Linked DNA regions of Homo sapiens: region 1 is linked to region 2. The links are contacts of gene promoters, found by promoter capture Hi-C in human tissues and cell types (Jung and others, 2019). All regions are on one chromosome and are shown on one strand. Each heading gives the region's core, a stretch centred on a gene start or on the middle of the fragment in contact. The rest is flanking DNA. Distances are from core to core; before and after follow the strand shown.

The links. Contacts are between HindIII fragments. The study calls those that stand out against the background at their distance.
Region 1: a contact is called between a fragment that was not itself captured here and the fragment with the promoter of SCN4B in region 2, in 1 of the 25 tissues and cell types used here (spleen).

Annotation. Positions count from the first base shown.
Region 1 is chr11:118,621,580-118,625,834 of GRCh38, reverse strand. PHLDB1 (pleckstrin homology like domain family B member 1) reads right to left here. Exons shown (of 23, transcript NM_001144758.3): 5 at 776-901. Among named protein-coding and RNA genes, the nearest start is that of PHLDB1, 16 kb to the right of the region's middle. The HindIII fragment of the contact is 8,405 bases long and covers 1-4,255 here.
Region 2 is chr11:118,150,871-118,155,303 of GRCh38, reverse strand. It overlaps SCN4B (sodium voltage-gated channel beta subunit 4), which reads left to right and starts at 2,481. Exons shown (of 5, transcript NM_174934.4): 1 at 2,481-2,691. The coding sequence starts at 2,631. RefSeq lists an enhancer at 1,363-1,863. The HindIII fragment of the contact is 20,039 bases long and covers 1-4,433 here.

The DNA.
Region 1 (4,255 bases), core at 465-2,964, 470 kb before region 2:
TGTGGGATATAGTCAGAGGGGATGCCATGGATACTGATAATCCCAGTGATCACTCACCTTTCTTCAGGTCCCCAGGCTATCCACTTAGGCTGCTGATACCACCCCACTAGGTGTACCTGACATCCATGTCCATCTGTCCCAGCACCTGTCACCCCATAGCCATCTAAATGCCAGTGCAAAGTCTGAGATGGTAAACCCATAATAGCCTCCTGGTCTGCACCCCTCCTGCCCCCCTGTGCAGCTGGGCTGAGGGGGCCTGTGTTGGTTCCCCAGAACAATCACCAATTCTCTTCTGGGGATCAATAATTCACACACAAAATACAGCTGCTCCACTGAGTCATCAGCGGGCAGGGCATGGAGTGAGGGTTGGGCGAGGCCCAAGGACATGATCCCCACCACAGCTTACAGGGAGTTCAACCTAATGCTTCCTTCTGCCCCTCAGGGTACCCTAGAGGGTGAGGCTCCCTGTGGTGACACAAGTGGGCCAGAGTTCCAGACACTGAGTGGCATCCTCCAGGGCAGTGGGGTACAAGCTGGCAGAGCTTGCCATCCCTCGAGGCACATAATTTCCCAATTTTAGCTAAGCAGCACTGCCTTGGTTAGCTCTCAGTGGCCCCACTGCCTGGCATTCTCCACCCGCCCATGGCAGGTGGCAGTGAGCCCAGACCTTAGGTATTGTCTTGCCCTAACACTCCAAGTGTGGCTGAAGTGAGCAAGGAGGAGGACTGCTGCAGGAACACCATCAACCCAGCACCCTGCCCCCGTCGGTACCTACCAGGAACAGGGCTGTAGGGGGGCCCAGGGGCTCGGCCCCCTGCTGGAATCATGCTTTTCATCCACTTGGCTTCAGCCGGGTGGTTAAAGCGAAGGAAGGTGGACTGACCCAGGCACAACATGCAGCCTGCAGAGAAAGCAAACACTTGAAGACCAGGTGTGGTGGCTCACACCTGTAATCCCAACACTTTTGGAGGCGGAGGAGGGTGGATCACCTGAGGTCGGGAGTTGGAGACCAGCCTGGCCAATGTGGTGAAGTCCCGTCTCTACTAAAAATACAAAAATTAGCCGGGTGTGGTGGTGGACGCCTGTAATCCCATAATCCCAGCTACTCAGGAGACTGAGATCAGAGAATAGCTTGAACCCAGGAAGCGGAGGTTGCAGTGAGCTGAGATCATGCCACTGCACTCCAGCCTACATGACAAGAGCTAAACTCTGTCTCAAAAAAAAAAAAAAAAAAAAAAAAAAAAGAAAGGAAGAAAGAGAGAAAACACTTGGAAGGGCAGGCAGGACTGAAGTTACCCCACCTCACAGCACTAGCAGGCTCACCTCAGCTCTAAAGACCCATCCTCATCTGCTCTCAGAGTCCACACAGTCCACACCTGACCTTGCCTGTGCTTGAGATGGGCACCTCCAGGGCTCCGCAGCACAAGACAGAGTAGAAAAAGCACTGGTGAGTGAGTCCCAAGATCTGAGTCCTCGTCCTAATTCCTCTTCTTACTAGCTGTGAGATCTCTGGGTGAAGTAACTTCACCTCTGAATCTAGTTCTCTTAATCAGAAAAATGGGGACAATACCACTGATCTTGTAGGGTTAATAAGACAGTGTATGTGAAAGTACTCTGTAAAAATATATTCAGAGAGGCCAGGCATGGTGGCTCACACCTGTAATTCCAGCATTTTGGGAGGCCAAGGCGGGCGGATCACCTGAGGTCAGCAGTTCGAGACCAGCCTGGCCAACATGGTGAAACTCCGTCTCTACTCAAAATACAAAACTTAGCTGGGGGTGGTGGCGTGCGCCTGTAGTCCTAGCTACTTGGGAGGCTGAGGCAAGAGAATTGCTTGAATCCAGGAGGCAGAGGCTGCAGTGAGCCGAGATCACACCACTGCACTCCAGCCTGGGCAACAGAGCGAAACTCCGTCTCACACACACACACACACACACACACACACACACACACACACACAAATGTTCAGAGAACACAGACACACCTGTCCCCCAACCCCAGCCTGTATCCATGATCCATCTATCTGCCCCTTGGGTAGAAGGGTAGAAGAGTCAGTCTGAGAGGCAGCAACTTCCAGGGTCACAAAAAAAAACTGAGATAGGGAACAAGGGGAAAAACCATGGATCAGTCAGATGAACCGGGGGGGTCCTGAATTTGCTCCCACTCTTTCTTGTTTTGTGACCTTAGGAGAGCTGTGCACTGCAAGTCTAGGGAGCGACCACCACCTTTCTTTCTGACTAAGCACCCTCTGCATGCTCCCTGGTCTCCCCTGGCATCAGGCCAAGACTAGGCCACCAGGCCCGGCCTCAGCCAAGCACATTCCCAGGCAGTAGACACAAGCCCAGTCCTGCCCGGGAAGTGTGAGTACCTGGAGGGGGAGGGCATGTGGGAGCTGGAAAATGTAGCCAGGGGCACCTGGAGTGTGCACAGTGGCAGATGTGCCCACAGGCGCCTAACTGTAGCTAGCAGAACTCCACCTCCCAGCCACACCAGGTGCTGGAGGGCTACTGCAGAAGATACTATGTTGGGAGAAGCCAGAGCCCTGTTGCTCTCTACCACCAATCCTTCCAATTTGTCCACACCCCTGGCCCCCGGCCTCAGCCTCCTGTCTACCCAATCTGGTGCCACTTGGCACCCCAAGCTTCACGCCAGTCTGAGCTAAGACTGGCAGAGAAGTCTACATTCCTGGACGCTGAGACAGTTCAGCTCAGGCAGGCCGCAAGGGCAAGAGGCATCCCAGGCCACGTGAGTACCTTGGCAGGTCCCTTACTGAGAAGCTCAGGAGCCTGTTCCTGGGATCCTGGGCATTGCTTGGGTTGGGGGTTTAGTAGGCTGAGAAGCCCATGGCAGATAACCATAGTGGATAAAGCCACTCACTATCCTGGCATACACAAAGGCCCTCCCAGGCAGCCAGACACCAACAATTCTAAAGGAGAGAGAGGGAGCCTTCCCTGCCAAGTCACCAATCAGAGAAGAGGATCCCAGAGTATTCAAAACTGGAATAAATAATAGCCAACCACACTGTCCACCTAATTACAACCACAGCTGTTTCAGAAAGAGCCCTGTCAAGCCCCTCCCCCTCCATTTAGCCATTTAACAAGCCTACTGGTGATGAGTTCACAGGGTCTAGACAGAGCCACTCAACCCAGGGTCGTGGGTGGTAGGGATCAGGAGCCTGACCACACAGTCCAGGCTGGGAAGGAGGCAGGGAGTCTGAGTGGATTCCAGCCCAGCAGTCCCAGGCCCACCCAAGTAGGATGTAGGCATCTAGGGATCCTCTGCCTGGGCCCCTATAGCTGTGTGTTTTCTGCCCCCTCCTCAGCCCTTCACCCTCCCCGGCATAAGGGGGTGTGGCCATGCTGCCTCTGGGCTATAAATAGTGATGCCAGGCAGCAGAGCTGGATCCGTATTAATAGAGCGGGCAGGAGGGCAGCAGGACTGAGAGCAGCCCAGCTCCTGCCCAAATTAACTTTCTATTTGCATGCAGAAGCTTCAGGCATTGCCCTGATGCTGGCCCCTACAGCCCCCAGGGGTCTGGCCAGCCTGTTTCTGGGAAGAAGCCTCCTCTCTGCCCACTCCCACCCCAACCCGCAAAGGCCAGCCCTTTCAGGGAGCCCAGGAATCCCTGCCCATCCTGCCAAAGTCATGATCAGTGTCCCCCATGCCCAGGGGGGATCAGGGTCCAGCTGTGTGCAGGTGGGTGGAGGAGCTGCACATCTGGAGGGGAAAAACTGGGCGAAGGAGAGGGTGAATCCTATCTGTGAGAGATGCAGAGGAGAAACACCAACACAAACAGGCTCACACTCATACACACTCATAGTAACACAACAGACTTATGGGCGTACATGCTCACACACTCTCAGAGCTACTGTCACTGCCCTCCTGGTCACACAAATAGAATGGATTGTCCAAAGGGAGACCGAGTGAAGGGAATATGGGAGGAAGGGCCTTGGTCCTTCCTATCAGAGACCCTCCTTGGCCATAAGGTAGACTCCCCTCATTCTAACCAGGACTCTTTAACCCCATCTGAGGGAGGTGGGTCCTAAGGAGGGGACTGCCGGAGCGCTGGAGAAGATAAGGTCTACCGGCTGAGAAGTGCCCCCAAGCCCAGAATCCCCATTTAGAAATGTTCAGGGAACACACACAATCGAGTCTCTCAGCCTCAAGCTCCCAAAGAAGGTCAGAGGACCCCATGCACCTCCTCCCGCCCACCCTCCTCAAGACGCCCCTCCCAGTCTGAGCTTCTCCAAGCTTG
Region 2 (4,433 bases), core at 1,232-3,731:
TGAGGTAGCAGTGAGGTAGCAGGGAAGGTGGGGAGAGGACACTGAGGACGTTGGCCATCTTTTCCTGTCACCAGGATCTAAAGATATCCCTGCAGCTCTGTCCCTCTCCTCCCCCTGCTCTGGGCAGGGGTCACTTTCCTTCCCTTTGGCTCACCTCCTCTCTCACCTCAGTCTAGGGTTCTGAGAAACATGACCCCTGCTGTAAAAATAAAGTGGTCAGTTTGTATGCCTGGCCCTGCGGATCTAGTGCAAGGACCTCCTGGGGAAGGACAGGGTAAGCCTGCGGACCTGGAGACAGATGGGGAGGCTTAGCCTCAGGGCCCACAGACCTCTTTAAGTTCAAATGTACTGAGTGTTTATCCTGTGCCTAGCTGTCTGCTGAGCACTTTTACATGCAATAATATCTCATTCCCTCTTTACAGCTAGGTCCACTTTTGATGTTGCAAGTCCTGGAGCAAAGGTACAAATGGAAATTATACATATGTCTAAATATTAATCAGGATAACAAAGTGTTAAGATTGATGTTTTATCCTCTGCCTTTAATTACTTTTCCTTCATGATAACCTGGAAAACCATGTCCAAAATGAAATTTTCAGGCCATTCTCTGGTACACACTCTTCTCTGGTCCTGTAGTGAGAGGGGCTCTTGTGCATGCCTAGGGTGTGTGTCAAGTTACATGCACTCCCCATCACCTGCATACAGCTGTCCCTTGCCCACTGCTCTAGCCCTTGAGTGCACACCTGATATGGCCAGCCCTTGAAAGGACAGATCTGGGGAATAGGGAATTCCAGAGTTCCTGATACCTGGAGTACAGTCTAGAAGGGGAGGAGGTGCATGCCCCCACCTGCCCTGCCCCCTTGGTCCCATGGACTCATTCTCCAGTGAGGGGCATGGCCAGAGGAGGGCCAGAATGAGGGCCTTTAAAACCAGAAATCAGGGCTGAGGCTTCTGTTGCCCAGGTCCAGGGGTAACATCGCTCTTAATAAGCCTAGGAGGCAAATATCATTGCATTCACCATTTTATAGGTGAGGAGCAGAGGCTCCCCCAGAAGACCATGTAACTTGCTCAAAGCCATACAGTCATAAATGGTGGCGCTGCCAGAGCCTCTGTGCCACTATAGGGAAGGCAGCGACCCTCTCTCCTGAAAAAGCAAACAGACATTCAGCACTTTGCCTGCAACCTCAAGGGGTCCGTGATCACGCCGAAGTCCACCCAGAGACCCCTCGTTAAGAAGGCGGTGCGTTGGTGTGCCTGCAGCAGAAGTCAGACCATGAAGTGGGAGCGGGCTTCCCAGTCCGGACCAGTCCTAGACAGTAAAGAGGGCCTGTGATGCAGGGAGGGTCTTGGATGGTTGGAAAGGTGCTGAGGAGGAGATCGACTCATTTACAGAACCACCAGCCCAAGTAGCACCGCTCAGGTGAAACTCTTTCACTTGGGCCTGTCTGGGAAAAGGCTTACTCGTTCACAGCCTCGCCTCAGCCCTCTGACCTGGTTGTCACCCTGGACTCCTCCACCCCTACCCCAAAAGGGAGGCCGAGGGAGTCTGCCGTTCCGAAGAAAACAGGAGAGTTGGAGGAGGGCGAAAAGGCAGCATCTGAGGGGGACGGCCTAGGTAGGAAAAATGAGAAGCAGGGGTGCAGCGGGAGGGTGAAATGGGGCGCAGGACACAGACCAGGCGCGGACCAACCTGCTCCCTAACCTGGAGCGTGGTGATTTCCAAGGGGTCCATGGAGAAATGTGGGGCGGGGTGGCGTGGGGGTGGGGGAAGGGAGGGCCGGGGCAGTTTGCAATGGGAAAGCTCTGTTCCGGGCTTCCTAAAACAACCGCCGGAGTTGCTGAGCGATGGGGCAGAAGGTGGCGGGAGCGGGTCCCGAGGCTGCACGCGCGCCATGTCGCACGCCACCGAGGAGGCGCAAGCTGCAGTGGGCAAGCCCGCACACGCCCACCCGTTGCGGCAGCGTCCGCTGCGGACTTTAAAGCGGTCCCTTGGCGGTCCTGGGAGAGGGAGCCGCTAACCTTCCCGTGTTCCCCCAAGCAAAGCAAAACAGTCTTCCAGCAACCGAAAAGCTCCACCTCTACTCCCCCCGAACTATGCTCCTAATTGGCAGCTCAGCGCATGGGATGATGCGGGTGGCTGCAGGCCGGCCCTGCAGTGCCAGCCGCAGCAGCCCAGCCCCACTGGAGAGGGAGTTGGGGGCACGGCGTGGTCCCGGGGCTCCGGGACCGCGAGGCGGGGTGCGGCAGGCAGGGTGCGCAGCGGGCGGGGGCTCCCCGGCCTACGCGGCGGCCACCGCCCCTCCTGCGGCTGGAGCGCTTCCAGAGCAGAGGCGCAGCCTCGCTCGCCGCTGCGCTCGCTCCGTCTTCCTCCCGCTCCTGCTCCGGCTCCTCCTACTCCTTCCCTCCCGCCGTTGCTCCAGCAGCCGGCTCCCAGCAGCGGGCGAGCGCGCCTCCCCCTCCGCTCCCTCCCTCCCCCTCCTCTCGCTCTCTGCCCGCTAACTTTCCCGAGCCCCGACCGGCGGCGCAGAGCTCCGGGGTAGCTTTGTGGCCGAACGCCGACCTCGGGCGGAGAGCGCGGCTGTGCCCAGTATCCCATCCCCGCGACCCCCGCGCGCTCCGGAGAGAACAGGACTATGCCCGGGGCTGGGGACGGAGGCAAAGCCCCGGCGAGATGGCTGGGCACTGGGCTTTTGGGTAAGGCAGCCCCAGCTTGGTCTCTTCTCTTGCCTCCCCCCACCCCCAAAGAAGGGGACACTCGAGAAGGAAGATGCCTTGGATGGGGTGGGCTTTGGAGTGCGGCACGGAATGAGGATGGTGGCCGCCGGCTTCCTGCCTGGTTCCTGCCTGGTTCATAGGCTGTGCTCCCTGGGGACCGTGTGCGTCCCTCTCTACCCCATCAGCCCGCCAGTCTCAGGATTAGTTTTTTTGCTGTCCTTGGCACCTTCGGCTCCAGGTATTTGGAGCTGGATCTTGGGGCTGCAGCGCGGGTCTCCAGAGTTCAGAGGTTCAGGATGCTGGAGGAGGGGGGTCCGTGCCTTGAGTGCAGGGGATACCAGGTGGGTTGCACGTGTGACTGTTGGAATGGTGGTTTCCATCCCGGCCCAGAGCCGTTTGCTTGTTTCCCAGGCACCAGGCATGCACCAGTTGGGGGTGGGGGAGTCCCCTTCTTCCTGGGCCCTTTTCCTGCTTTGCTCCTCTGCCCTGTACCTCCCTCAGGAGCCACTGCCTTCCCTACAGCAGCACCTGAAAGCTGGAAGGGGCTGGAGGGGCTTGCGGGATCATTCAAGGCCCTTTAGGAACGGCCTTGTCTCTCTTCCTACAAAGAGATTCCGTAGGGAAGACCTGTTTGACCTGCTCCTGGCTCTTCATTTTTGAAGTGAATATGGAGACAGAGAAGACATGTCCAGAGGACACGGAGGAAGAAGCATTATTAATATCTATTAATATGCACATGAGAGTTTTGAGTGTCAAACTCCAAGAGATTAGGGAATGATATTTATTCATCCAGGATGTAATCTCCTCATAAATCATAGCCAGACTTTAATGTAAGCCGACTCCATCTCTGGCAACGGCATCTCTTCCTGTTTATATTGGTCAGATTTGGCTTTTGGCAGCTCCCTGCATTGGGTAAGACACACGGTGTAGGTATTTCTGCTGAAAACAGGGAGACAGAACCCTATAAGGGAAGTGGCTACTGTTTCTGCGAATGTAAACTGTGTGCAGATCTAGCAGGTTGGTGCCTGGTGGTGAAGAGGGGAGAGAGTATTTCTTGTACTTGGGATGTTTATTTACCTCTGTACCGCTAGATGGAAGACACCCTTGTTTTCTCCTGTACCTTGGCACAGATGTCATGCTGGTTTCACAGTGACCTTAATGAAGTGGGCCTTAGTGACGCCTGAGGCTCCTTTTCACAGGGTGGGCACAGCGCCATTCCATGCTACTTCCCCTCATCCCATCTCAGATCAGCCCAGGTCCCCATGGTGGCAATGGCAGGGGTAAAGGATCACTGAGGAATTCAAACTCAGCCAGTCATTAAACTACCCCACTTCACACCTCTGGCTTACCTTCCTGGGTGGTGGGATGCCAGTCCCTTGTTTGTTAGAATACTCATAGAACCAGGCCTCTGTGGGCAACCAAGAGGGCCCTGAAAATGATGTGTGTGTGTGTGTGTGTGTGTGTGTGTGCACGTGTGTAAGGGGGATTGTAGGCACAGTCTTGGTACATTGCTCCAGGTGGAAGCCCCACCTTCTCCAAGGACTGTTCAGCTGTATAGACCAGGTAGGGGCTAAGGCCTATTGATATAGGTTTAGATGAATTTCTGAGCTACCCTTTGGGAGCCCAGGAGAAAGCAGAGTGACTTGTAGGTGGGAGACCTGCAGGCCCCAGGACTGGCCTCATCTGCTCTGTCCCCTGCCCCTCTGGTCTGCAGAGGGACT